4 separate regions of the Homo sapiens genome follow, and all the other regions are linked to region 1. The links are contacts of gene promoters, found by promoter capture Hi-C in blood cells and fetal thymus (Javierre and others, 2016). All regions are on one chromosome and are shown on one strand. Each heading gives the region's core, a stretch centred on a gene start or on the middle of the fragment in contact. The rest is flanking DNA. Distances are from core to core; before and after follow the strand shown.

What was found. The method cuts DNA at HindIII sites, captures the fragments that hold promoters and counts their contacts. A CHiCAGO score of 5 or more calls a contact.
Region 2: a contact is called between a fragment that was not itself captured here and the fragment with the promoter of ANO6 in region 1, in 1 of 17 cell types (fetal thymus). The highest score is 8.4, in fetal thymus.
Region 3: a fragment that was not itself captured here is called in contact with the fragment with the promoter of ANO6 in region 1 in 1 of 17 cell types (fetal thymus); the score reaches 5.0 in fetal thymus.
Region 4: a fragment that was not itself captured here is called in contact with the fragment with the promoter of ANO6 in region 1 in 1 of 17 cell types (fetal thymus); the score reaches 5.4 in fetal thymus.

Annotation. Positions count from the first base shown.
Region 1 is chr12:45,214,369-45,217,651 of GRCh38, reverse strand. ANO6 (anoctamin 6) reads right to left here and starts at 1,557. Exons shown (of 20, transcript NM_001025356.3): 1 at 1,261-1,557. The coding sequence starts at 1,330. It also overlaps the pseudogene PLEKHA8P1. RefSeq lists enhancers at 552-681, 1,692-1,791 and a silencer at 922-1,231. The HindIII fragment of the contact is 6,776 bases long and covers 1-3,283 here.
Region 2 is chr12:45,986,297-45,989,579 of GRCh38, reverse strand. The region is part of intron 1 of SCAF11 (SR-related CTD associated factor 11); the gene reads left to right. Among named protein-coding and RNA genes, the nearest start is that of SCAF11, 2.6 kb to the left of the region's middle. RefSeq lists a silencer at 2,828-2,877. The HindIII fragment of the contact is 7,512 bases long and covers 1-3,283 here.
Region 3 is chr12:45,956,170-45,959,452 of GRCh38, reverse strand. All of the region lies in intron 3 of SCAF11 (SR-related CTD associated factor 11), which reads left to right. Among named protein-coding and RNA genes, the nearest start is that of SCAF11, 33 kb to the left of the region's middle. The HindIII fragment of the contact is 1,158 bases long and covers 1,026-2,183 here.
Region 4 is chr12:45,754,876-45,758,158 of GRCh38, reverse strand. The region is part of intron 3 of ARID2 (AT-rich interaction domain 2); the gene reads right to left. Among named protein-coding and RNA genes, the nearest start is that of ARID2, 27 kb to the right of the region's middle. The HindIII fragment of the contact is 3,333 bases long and covers 1-3,210 here.

The DNA of each region.
Region 1 (3,283 bases), core at 308-2,807:
TGGGCAGACCAACCTGTGCGCTTCAGTTTTCTCTCCTATAAAAACTACTACTATTTGCTCTCTCCTTAAAGATGAATAACTAGTAAATTGTTCTTAAATGAATGAATGAAATGTGAAACTAAATCATGGAGTGTAATCTCCTCTATTCGATTTGTCCCTGGACAACCAAGAAGTTACCAAATTTTTTTGATCGAAATATTCCGTGCCCAAAATGTAACAGAAATAAAAACCACACCCAACTCCTAAAATTAAGTTACTTTTAAAGTTATTAGATAACAACAGGGCTTTAGAACATCAGCAGGATGTTCTGCTTTAAAATTGATTTGGCATCCAGGAGACTAAGCCGAGTCGCCACAACAGACTGGCTTGGTAATTTAATTAGAGTCTTCTGGAGGGACACATTATATCATCATCCCCCGACAGTGTTCTCTTTAGGGACCTGATTTTCTCTCTAGTCCTCTCATTCCTTTCCCCTTCCTCACCTCCTCTCATCCCTTTTGTTTGCCCTTTTTTTCTTTTTTTGCTCTTAAAACAGCTCTCCCTCCGTTCGTCTTGTCACTTCCATGCATTTTTAACTCTAACTAGAAATGGGTCACCCCAGGTTTGCTCCCCAAGCCCCAGGGCCCCTCAGGACGAGTGAAAAAGGCCCTGCGGTCCTCCCTGCCTGGGGGAATTCCTCCTCCGATCACAGCTCCGGTGGGCTCCGCAGATGGGAAAGGGTTTCCAGCGCGCGCCTAGCGGCCACAAATCACTTCCCGGGGCCGCCCCGCCAGGCCTCAAACCTCCCAGAGCCGTCGGTCGGCTTTTACTTTAACGAGGATTCAGATGGGTCACACCCTGTCCTCCAAATGCGGGCCTGCTCCCCGGACCCCGCCCAGGGGGCTCGCCCCAGTGCCGAGGCTCCTGGGCAACCCTAGCACTCTGCGAGTCGGGGAAGTGACCCCAAAGTTGCTTCTGAGTGGAGACTTCCGCACGCAGAGGCGTCCCCGCAGCTGCCAGGCTTTTCAGGGGCAGCATCCCCCGCCCGTCAGGAGCCTGTCCTCGGGGCCACCACGCGCCCCGCGCCTCAGCCCCGCAGGGGCCGCACCGGGGCCTCAGTCTGCAAGCAGCCGGGGACAGCGGGCTTCCTCCCCTGCCCGGAGCGGCCGAGCGTCTCGGCCAACCTCCCCCGCGGAGAGCACAGCGCCCCCGCGCAGTCCCCGAACTTCTTCCCGCGTCGGCTCGGGCTCTCGGGTGGGGACGCGGGGACCCCTCGCTCACCGATATCCCCATCGTCGTCGTCCTCCTCCTCCTCCATTTGTAGCAAAACATTCCTGCTCATCTTTTTCATGTCTCCCTCAGAAGGCGGCTCCGAACTTGGCGCGAAGTTGGGGGCTCCCGGGTTCCAGAACGGCGCGGCTCTCCCAGGGGCCGGATCGGGGACCGCGGGGCGTGTGTCGCTTGGGCTCAGGGGCCGCTGAGCCCAGCCAGCGCCGGGGAAAGCCGAGCCGAGGCACCCACCGACCGGAGCCCAGAGCCGGAGGACGCCTCTCGCCTGCCGAGCGGAGCCCGGAGACTGAGCATGCCCAGTGCGGCCGCCGCGGCTCGCTGCGGAATGATTGAACTTCCCCGGTTTTACGAGGCGCGCAGAAGGAAGTCGGCAGGCGAGACTGCAGAGGGAGTAGTGCGATCCTGCGCGCGGGGGAACTAGCTGGAGGGCAAGGCGGGAACACGTGAGTGCGGGAGTGGACTGGGTTCCCTGAGCATTGATCCCAAACAGGGCAGCTTTTCGTTCCAAGGTCGTCTGTGGACACACACTGTGGCTTGCTTTGTTTTAACGTCTGATACTGGAGAGGAGGGAAATGCTGCTGCAGCACAACTGCAGAACCCTGGAAGGCGAACTCGTTTGAATGGCTTTTAAAGGCGACGTGGAGCTAATAATGGGGGGATCTTAAATTACTCTAGCTCCGAAGTGGGAAAGTGGAATCTGTACGGGTAGGTTAAGATTACGGTGGAGTCGGGGTGGGAGGAGAGGCAAAACTCAGAGAATAAGCAAAAGAAGAAGGGGCGGGACGGACGGGAGTGGGGGTGGAGAGAATTTTCTAAATAAACGTGTGCACAAAGGCAGGAGGATTTCCGCATACATTGAGGTCGCGGAGAGTGGAGAAGCGCCCCCTACTCCGCCCGCGCGAGCACACAGGGAGTGGTCGGAAGATAATCGCTGAAGCGTCCAGCCTATTTGTACAATTGAAACTAGTCCTCTGTGTCAAAGAGGGAGAAGAAGCCGAAGACCACTAGAGTTAGATGTAAACTCTTCTAAAGCAATGTGGAAAGCTATAATAAGAGAAAAGAAAGTCGTGAAATAAAATTAAGGCAGAGAGTTTTTATTTTTATTTTTAATGCTTTCCTGGAAACCAAAGGGACCGATAGGACAAATACAAAGGGATTTAGTACTTTAAAGACCCTTGGAGTTGTTTGAACGGCAGGTTTTGGGGATCGCGTGTCTACAAAACTTTTTTCAAAAAAGCTGGTACATTCAGGTTGTTCAATTTTGACTTCTCAAAAGGGCTAGAAGGTATATTTGAAATCTTGGTTATATGTGTTATTGTCTACTCATTGAAATTGTTTATATTTTTTCCACTGAAGTGCTAGGGTTATCACAATAACACTAAATCTACTGTGCATGTTTTTTCTTCCACATACTTTTTTTAAGACGGTCTCGCTCTGTTGCCGAGGTGGGAGTTCAGTAACTAGAACTACAAGCGGAGCACACCACCATGTGGGGCTTATTCTTAAATTTTTTTGTAGAGATGGGTGTCTCACTATGTTGCCCAGGCTGGTTTCGAACTCCTGGCCTCCAGCAATCCTTGCACCTCAGTTTCCTAACATTTTTAATGTTCTCTCTGAAAGAAAGAAAACATTGGGACCAATCTTAAGTGGGAAAATAGACATGAATATATACATGAAAAGACATGATGAAATTACTTTTAAGAAAATACCTGGGAAACACTATACTTGCTTCTTGAGGTACTTTTTTTGAATAAACAGAATTGTTTTTAGTATAAAGAGACAACAATACAGTACTCTGAAGATAGGAGAAAAAAATGATGGGAGAAGAAAGATGAGAAGAGATTGTTTCCTTTCACTGAACACTCTCCCCTGAGCTTGTGAAACTCACTAAAAGTAGAAACTTCAAAAGTGTTTTGGTTACATGATCAATTTTTACAATTTTCTTTTAACAAATTTTTGTGTAGTACTTTTTATGTGCTAGGAAAAGTTTTACATGTTTTATAAGCATCCAGTC
Region 2 (3,283 bases), core at 331-2,830, 770 kb before region 1:
CAACACGTATTTTGAAGTATTGTTTCAAAAGTAGACGCCTGATTTAGAGTACTTGATTTAGACATTCACGGATTCAAATGTTGAATTTTGAAATACTTCCAATATATTTCCGTATTGTATTACATACAGTGTCTACCAGCTGACTGTTGTTCATTCATTTTGGATTACATTTTGGCTAACATGCTACCACTGACCTAAGATACTTAAGCAAAACTGCTGAAAAATGTTTTTAATGCTTTGTGTAGTAGATGCTGATGTTAAATTTTTTTCTCCGATTTGGGAATTTTCCCCGAATTTTGGGAAAAGCATATTAATAAATGCATTATTTTTTCGTTTTAAAAGAAAAATTAATTTCTACATATCACCACCTACCTCAGCAGCAGAATATCAGGGCAGTACATTTTAAAATAACGGTTGGTTTTTGTATTTTATTAGTAATTGTATTAAAATTTTGACATGTAATCAAGTCTGTTTCTAAACAATTGCTTTCTCTTTCCTGTTTCTTTGGCAGTTGGCTTGATCATGTCACTATTTTGGTTAAAAGATGCAAGAAAAAGTTCATGGGCCTTTTGTTTTTGTTGTTTTAACTAAGCAAGAGAAATGAAATCTTGAAACTGTCTTTGGATTTCTTTTGTTTTATATTATCCTATCGGATAATCTGAATTTATATTTTTTATGCAATGTGAGTTTTTTAAAAACAGTTCTTAGGGTAGCTGCATTTTAGCTATAATATTTTTTGGTGCTTGCAGATATTTTAACAGTCATTCAGTTTTTCACATTCAGATAGTGAACTTTTTGCCTGAGAGTTTGAGTACATTTTAAGATTTCACTGGGGTAAAATTTGAATGTTTGCTTACTGTAAGTATACTCATGCTTTAAAGACATTCTTCAGTATAAAGGGGAAGAAAACTGTAGAAGAAAATTTAAAGTTTCTAAATATGTTGCCAGAAAACATGTCATGGAGAAAATTTTACGGATAATTTTTTAATTTTTTCTGTTAATACCTTCATGTGGTAATAGGGCTAGTGTGTTAAGATCGAAACTTTTCAGGAGTTACTTAGCTCTCTATCGTCCTTTGGCACCAACTAGAGCTTAGACAGTTTTCTGGAAAACCTGTGCTTTTATTCAGCAGAGATAGGATGAATCAGTGCAGTTACATGATACTGTTGATTCATCATCAGTAACATCTTTTAGTAATCAGAAAATACAGTACTATACTACCCATCAACTTAATACTGAACTTTTAAAGTATATCAGAGATAGTTGTAGCACCTTAATTAAAGAGAGTAGCAGGCATAAAAGTAATAAAAAGAAAGTCAACTGTAGAATAATTTTCATTGTAACTTCCCTTTAGCAAGCCCTGCTATCACCTGCTTTTGTCTTTTAAGATGTAAATTGTACCTTGACTTACCTTGCCCAGTGAAATAAACTTAAAATCCAGATTTTTAATTATACTCTGTCCCCCAAAATAAGTTAATAACCTTGCACCTTGTCTTGCTTCTGAGCAGTAATAACTGTTAGTAGTGCTGAGTAGAGCCCAGAGTTAAAATATCCAGTATCATTCTCTTGCTATTCCCAAAACTCATCTTTGCATTGTATTTTTTTAAGTTGTGTCTATGAACTTAATGTATGAAATCCTAGTACATAGACACATAAAAATTCAATACATAACGTAAAAACACAACCACTATTTTGCTTTCAAAAATATCTTCCTAAAAAGTCACTGTGACCTTTGCTGATCTACAGTCTTTAACACTCCATAGCCAGAGTGATCCTGATAAAATGTCAGGTCATGTAACTTCTTTTCTCAAATGGCTTCCCTTCTCAGTCATAGTAAATTCCATACTCCTATGGTCTACAAGGCTCTATGATTTAAGTCTCTTCTTCCTCTCTGACTTCATCTCCTCACCCTTTCTCCAATCTCCTTTCCCCTACGCTGTTGTGGTCTTCTCTAACTACTGTGTATAAAACAACAGCCTTCCCCCGATATTTTGTATCTGTTTTTATGCTAGATTTTTCTCCATTGCATTTATCATTTTGCAACATATTGTGTAATCTAACTTAGGTTTATTGTTTATTTTCTTCACTGTGATTTATCTTCTGTGAGATCAGCATTTGTCAGTATTTGTCACCTAAACACCTGAACAATGCCTTCAGTGTAAGTTAATGAATTAACCTGCTTTCAGCTGTAAACGTTACAAATAGTGATTGTGGTTTGAAACTTTAGACTAAGCAAGTCTCAGTCTGTAGCATAAACTGCCAAGTTACTTATATCCATGCATGTGGGCCATGTTCATTTCAGGGGTCCTTGTTTTTTGTTGTTGTTTGTTTTGTTTTTGCTTTCAGATAGCATCTCGCTGTCTCCCAGGCTGGAGCGCAGTGGTGTGATCACAGCTCTCACTTTGGTGCCCAGGCTGGTCTCAAATTCCTGGGCTAAGTAATCATCCCGCCTTGGCCTCCCAAAGTGCTGGGATTACAGGAATGAACCACCACACCCAGCCTAAGGGGTCTGTGTTTTTAGAGGAGTATAACAGTATGTGACCTTGAAACTATCATTTGTCTTAATATAGAAGGAGCTAAGAATGCCTCAGCTAAGAGTAGAGCAGTGCATTAGCCTGATTTCATGCTGCTGACATACCTGAGACTGGGAAGAAAAAGAGGTATAATTGGACTTACAGTTCCACATGGCTAGGGAGGCCTCAGAATCTTGGTGGGAGGAGAAGGGCACTTCTTACATAGTGGTTGGTGGCAAGAGAAAATGAGGAAGATGCAAAAGCGGAAACATCTGTTAAAACCATCAGATCTTGTGAGACTTGTTCACTACCATGAGAACAGTATGGGGGAAACTGCCCCCATGATTCAAATTATCTCCCAACAGGTTGCTCCCACAACACGTGGGAATTATGGGAATACAATTCAAGAGAGATTTGGGTGGGGACACAGCCAAACCATATCAAGCAGTATAACTATCTTATTGTTAAAAATGTTGTCATTTAGAAGCCATATTAATTTCTTATAGTTCCAGAAGGCAAAACTAGGATTGTGGTGATGTGTATTGAAAGGGAGGAGAGAGGCAGCAAGAGATCTGGGAGAATTAGTTAGCAGGCTTTTTTAGTAGTCTGGGAGAGATGAGGATAGCTTGAATTAGGATGATAATTGTGGAGATGGGCTCAGTGGATGGGATTTGAGACCAGCAGGCCTTAGTTAATAGATTGAAAGTGAGGGAGAAAGAAATTTGAAAGATGATTTCTGGATTACATTCCTGGGTTGTGCCAGATAAGGA
Region 3 (3,283 bases), core at 355-2,854, 740 kb before region 1:
TACACATTCTAACATTTAATTTCATTTAATTCACTATGTTAATATTTATTTGCTATACAAGACAAGGATTCTAAACTTACGATTTTTAAGTACGTCAAGGGATAGCCTGACGTTAAAATCTTTTTAAAAAATTGGTTTGTGGTGTACAATTTTATGCATGTTCACTTCTTTTTTTTTTTTTATTTGAGACAGAGTCTCAGTCTGTCACCCAGGCTCTAGTGCAGTGGAACCATCTCGGCTCACTGCAACTTCTGCCTCCCAGGCCAAGCGATTCTTGTGCCACAGCTCCTGAGAAATCTGCATAAGAGAACAGTACAATTTGCAGTTAGGATCATCTTTCTAGATTTCTGTATCTTTCAAAATTTCTGTGCTTTCTGAGATTTGTACCCAAGGTTCACTGAAATATGATTCAGAAGGAATATCAAGCACCAAAAAAGGACTCATTTATTTACTTTCACCTTAATATTTTAGGCATTGAACACATTCTTAAAAACACTGGTCTGTAAGAAACTGGTGTTTTGAAAAATTAAAGTGTGTCGTAGTCTAGTATATTTATTTTGGCCACATAGATCAAAGTTAGTTTCAGTCTTTTCAAGCTCTAAAATTTTGGTTCTGTGGTTATTTAAACAAAAGCTATGTAAGGACTTTAAAGTGATTAAGTAAAAAGTCTTTGGGTATGTCAGAATCCTCTTTACTTAGGGCAAAATGTTTCAGGGTGAACCTGTGGTAGCCTTCATGGCCCATAGCCTAATTGCCTGCCCTTAGGGACACTAGAACAAATTGAAATTAATCATGTCCACTATGATTATATTTAGTTTCAAGGAATTCATAGATGGTAAACCTGTTGATTTATAAAATAATGATGATTATATAGAAATAGAATATTGAACAATGACACAATAATTGACATTAAGGAAGGCTGAAATTTTTGTTAATTTAAACCATAACTGTTAGATCCAACAATCTAAAATTAATCAAAGACATTTGAACTGATGAAATGTATATAGAGCCAGTATGCTAAAGCTTATCATCTATTCAGTTAGGAAGTTATTTATTTTACCCATATTGTGGGCAAAAACAATATATACTTATTGATAGCTTTTAATATATCTGAGTTTGCATACTTTAGGAAGGTAAAGGACAGAGAAGTCTTGACACACATTGTAGTAGTGACAATTATGATTTCCTACAGACAAGATAATCTCCAACACATACAAACACACACAGGTTAAGTAAATGGGATTTATTGGCCAGGCATGATGGCTCACGCCTCTAATCCCAGCACTTTGGGAGGCCAAGGAGGGTGGATCACTCGAGCCCAGGAGTTTAAGACCAGCCTGGGCAACATGGTGAGACCTCATCTCTACTGGGAAAAAAAAAAAAAATTAGCCAGGCATGGTGGAGTATGCCTGTAGTCCCAGCTACTTGGGAAGCTGATGGGGGGAGGTTGGAGGATCACTTGAGCCTGGGAGGTCGAGACTACATTTATCTGTGATTATGCCACTGCACTTCAGCCTGGGTGACAAAATAAGACCCTATCTCAAAAAAAAGAGAGAAAGTAGGAATCATTATTTCCCACAGTTGCCGAGAAGTGATTAAAAATTTGGCCCTTAAAATAAGGTCATGGTTTGAAGACACATGTTTAAAGCATTTAAGAGTTCTTAACAATGTTTAATGGAACCTGCAGTATATGTGATGAGGATGTTCTTGATATCTGCTGGCATTCTTTTCCCTTTTACATAATATAAAATATTTCCCTTATCTTTTAAGTATTATTTTTAAAAATGTGATTAGTTTCCCATTATAAGCAGATTATTCTCCCTCCATTTTATACAAAATCACCCATTTTGTATAAAATGCCAACAGCTTCAGTATGAGAGAGTAAAGGTTAATGAAATCAAAATTCGGCAGTTGGCAAAGGCATGGTTTCTCTCCTAAACTAGAAATGAAGTGTCTTATTAAGGTGACATGCAGTTCTTGAAGAAGTCAAACAATAGTGTTCAACATAGGTGAAGGTTATATTTTTGAATTAATAATAAATACCAAAAAATCAAGATGTGAGTTCTTGACTTATATCTGGACTGCACATGTGTTTTATATACAGGTGTTTCTTTATGCAGTAGGTGGAAATTTGTCCATTCTGGTTGTTAGACTACTTTTAAGTAATATAATTCAGTAAAGCTTTATTATCTGGAATTTTCAATCAATTTTTCCTCAAATTCTAATTTTAAAAAAATTAACCAGAACTAACCCAGACACCTCTGTTATGTAGCTCTCTGTGAACGGTAATGTAAATGTACCTGTGTAGTACCACTAACATTAGTCATTTATAATTTATAAAGTATTGTCAGATACATTTTTTAAATTTATTACGCCTATGCAATAGATGATCAGGGCTCTCTCCATCTTCATCCTTAGTGTGGGTTGGAGTGATTGCTAGCTCCACAAGAACTTTAACTTGTAGCTAATTTTTTCAGATCCACCACTATTTTCACCCTGTGAATTAATCCTTTGGGAAATTTTTTAGTAGAGCAAAGAGGATTTTTGCATTGTGAACACCCATCACCTAAAGCATATATCTAAAAGAATTTAAGTACTCTGTTTACCAGTAAGGTAAATTAACATGCATTTCTTTGTGCCTAGTTTTAAATGTCAGAATATGTAAAATGATCTGTATGGGTAGTTTACTGAGTTTCTTGTTTTTACACTAGATAAAGTGTTGCCTATTGTCAGAATAAATTAAGATTACATGTAATTCTCCCCAACTGGTATCTTGGAGAACATGAAAGGATTTTAAGTAGTTTGATGAAATGTGTTCTTACTGGGGGTTAATTTTATCACTGACAGCCATTTGTCCTTTAGGGATACACTCCTGAATGCTGGTATAAAGAACCACAGTTTCACTAATATGGATTGACAAAGACTGTCTTGAAAGAACTGGTTAAATGTGATAGGGAACATGTAGGCTGACTGCAGGTGAACAATTAATTTGGAAGTACAGGTGAGGTGTCTTAGAACCATAAATGAAAAAAGATAGGTCCTGGAAAATAGCTTTAAAATAAGCATTAGCCACTAATGGTATGCATTTCTAAGTCATCTTTATTTGATTTTGAACTAGAATTTTGTATAACATGCTCTATTTTGTTAGTAGAGAGATAGATGTTCGAGATTCCCACAAACAGGCAAACCTACCTATAAACATAGGTATTGAGATTTAGTCTTTAAGCACTTGTCTTAACACTTGTTTCTCTCTCTCTAAGAGGAGCTATCTATAAGCAGCCTA
Region 4 (3,283 bases), core at 295-2,794, 540 kb before region 1:
TTACATTTTTCTCAAGAAAAAAGTATGTAATATGTCGAGAAACTGTAAGCATCCTGCTTATTTAGGTTCCAGAGAAACAAAACTTTGTTGTCTCGAAAAATCGCTTTGTTGTCTCAAAGAATCCTTTTGTCTTCACAGGGAATTCATAAATGACTATTCATTTTTGTGATCTTTGCATATTCACCTAAAGGAATTTATTAGAAAATATTGGACAGCAAATATTTAGAGAAATACTGGAGTTAACGGATAATTGAAGCAAGCACCATGTCTATTCCACCAGTTCAAGAATAAAAGATAATTCAACAACTTACAGATCTAATTGAAATGCATTCTCAAACTGCATTCACATGACAAAAGTGTGAAGAATTTGCACTGAAGTGTTGAAATCTAATCCTAAGAACTAACCGTATGAAATATTTGCTAATTCACTAATCAGGGTTCATAATCTTCAGACTTTTTTAAACGACTCCTCTCAAGGCACCCTACTATGCCCTAGTAATGAATGTTAACTGTTTTTACTCTTCTAGTGCATTCTAAATAAATTCCACTAAAACTTGGCTTCTCCTTTTTTCTCAATCAAGCTCTCTGTGATCATGATCAATCATCCCAGAACTAGAAGGGCAATGGGCTTTCACATCTGTCTCAGTAAGTTAAACATTTTTCAAGACTATCCCAGTTGGGTCCATTTTATCTAGCAAGTTTGTGTACTGACGGCAACATTTCCTAAAACTTCACATTTACCCTGTGAGTGATACGTATGCTAGGGGCTGGTGAGGTCAGGAGTGGGAAGAGATGGGACAATATGTGCTCAAATGTGTTTGGGAAATTCTGTGGACAGTCAGAAGATACATTATAAGCATATTAGTTTGAGAAGTGTTGCAGAAAAGAACGATGTTTAACTGTTTTTCCAAATAGTATTTAAGTACAGAACACATTTTCCACAGTCCACCTACTTAACAGTTTGGGAATGCTGGCCTAGGGATCTTTGCAAAGAAAACCAGTCCTTAGTCAATCATCCAAAATTGTACAATGAAAGGGGATTTGATACTTCATTAGGAGCTTAAACTCCTTTTCCTTATAATAATGATTCAGAGAAAGGAACAAGCTGAGATTTTTCCCTTAATTCAGGCTGCAGTTTACAAAGATGAATACTCCTTGCATTGCAAGGAGACTATTCCTGAACTTGCTGTGAATACCATGAAAAGAGCTCCACATTTTGTTTATATTACAACCGCCTCTGCTCTTTTTTTTCTTTTTTTAGAGGCAGAGTCTCATTCTGTTGACCAGGCTGGAGTGCAGTGGCACTATGCCAGCTTACTGCAGCCTCAACCTCCCAGGCTCCAGGGATCCTCCCACCTCAGCCTCTCAAGTAGCTAGGACTAAAGGCGCATGCCACCACACATAGCTCAAGCAATCCTCCCGCCTCAGCCTGCCAAAATGCTGGCATTACAGGCATGAGCCACTGTGCCCAGCCTCCTCCACTCTTCTAAGCAAAAGCAAACCCATGCCTTGAATGTTACAGGTAGGGAAGTTTGGGAAAAATTAACTTCATTCTAAATGCTGGATTTTCATCATTTGAGAATATCTGTCCTCTAATTGTGGTTGCAATGTTGTCAGTTACATATTCTTTGCATATTAATTGAAGGTGAGTTAGAGTGGAAGCAATTTTTATTAGTCTCAACCTTTGTGATAGCTATTTAAAAATCACTTCTAAAGGGAAAAAATATAGAAATGTCCAAACCAAATCAAATCAGCTTAATGTTAAAATAAGATTCTAAGTAACAAAAAAGCCCTTCCAGAAGAATTTTAATAAGATATGATGCTAAGTACATCCCAGTAGATAATTCTCCCCACTCCCAAGTATCTTTCCTGAACAGTCCCTTTTTCTTAACCACATGCACTAGCCACACAAATGTGTGTCCAGGAATATCCAAAGTTAGAAAATGTATTCTAGGCTGGGCGCGTTGGCTCATGCCTGTAATCCCAGCACTTTGGTAGGCTGAGGTAGGAGGATCACTTGAGGCCAGGAGTTCGAGACCAGCCTGGCCAACATGGTGAAACCCCATCTCTACTAAAAATGCAAAAATTGGCCAGGCGTGGCAGCACACACCTGTAATTCCAGCTACTCCGGAGGCTGAGGCACGAAAATCGCTTGAACCTGGGAGGCAGAGGTTGCAGTGAGCCGACTTCACGCCACTGCACTCCAGCCTGGGTGACAGAGTGAGACTCTGTAACAAGAAAAAACAAAAAGTATTCTAAAGAACTCTGAAGGTTTCAAATATGTGTATCTATCTTCTGTTCAGCCTGTTTCTGTCATTTGTAGATATACTTATCCCACTAGGCTCTATCTCACATGGTTCAGAAGAATAGAAGACAATGTTGCCAAATTATTCAGAGAGAAGTGCTGAGTTCCAGAGCTTGTTTAAAAAAAAAGTGAGCTCAGAGATGAAGTTGTAAAAAGTTCCTTCCAGCACAGAGGAAGAAGATAAACTGAATTAATAAGCTACATGTAATCTAAAATTTTACATGATTATGAACAATGGTGGACCTACACTCAAATAAAATATAGAACAGTTTATCCAATTTCCTAGTAAGTAGAATTCTCTATTAACCTGTTCTTCTGTAAATCAACAGTTCAATGACAAGTGATACTTACAACGATAAGCCTAAAGATACCACAGATTCTGAAGTACTTTCTGAATGTGACTTCCTTGTCTAGTATTTTTAAAGAAGTATTAGTTCACATTTATCTTAATATTCTATAAAAATAATCTCATTCTCTGACCAAGCTGGGCAGGTGTGTTTGCCATTCCTGCCACTACTTCCTCCTATCTCAAACCTATCCCACATACCAATGTAAGATTAATGTTCCCAAAACATCACTTTCATCAAAACAGTGTTCTGCTAAAAAACAAACAAATAACAACTACAAAACCTCCCCCAAATCTCACATCCTCACTATATGCAGAATAAAGCTCAAATATGTTAATTTGATTTTCAAAATCCTCCACAGTCTAAAACCAATTTTTGGTCCAGGTCTTATATTCCACCAATCACATGCGTTAACGCCTCCGATGCAGCAGAGTTCATTTACATGTTTAAAATACACTGTACAGACTCTCATTTTCCATTTTCCTCATATCTAAAAAGTCCCCCATCTTCCTTTTTATTGTTTCTATCTGAATCCAACCAGTCTTTCAATGTCAAGCTTGAGGGCTCTTCCATAGGCCCCTCTCTATCTCAAACAAAAGTGATTTCCTACTTTTCTTATTTCCAATTATCC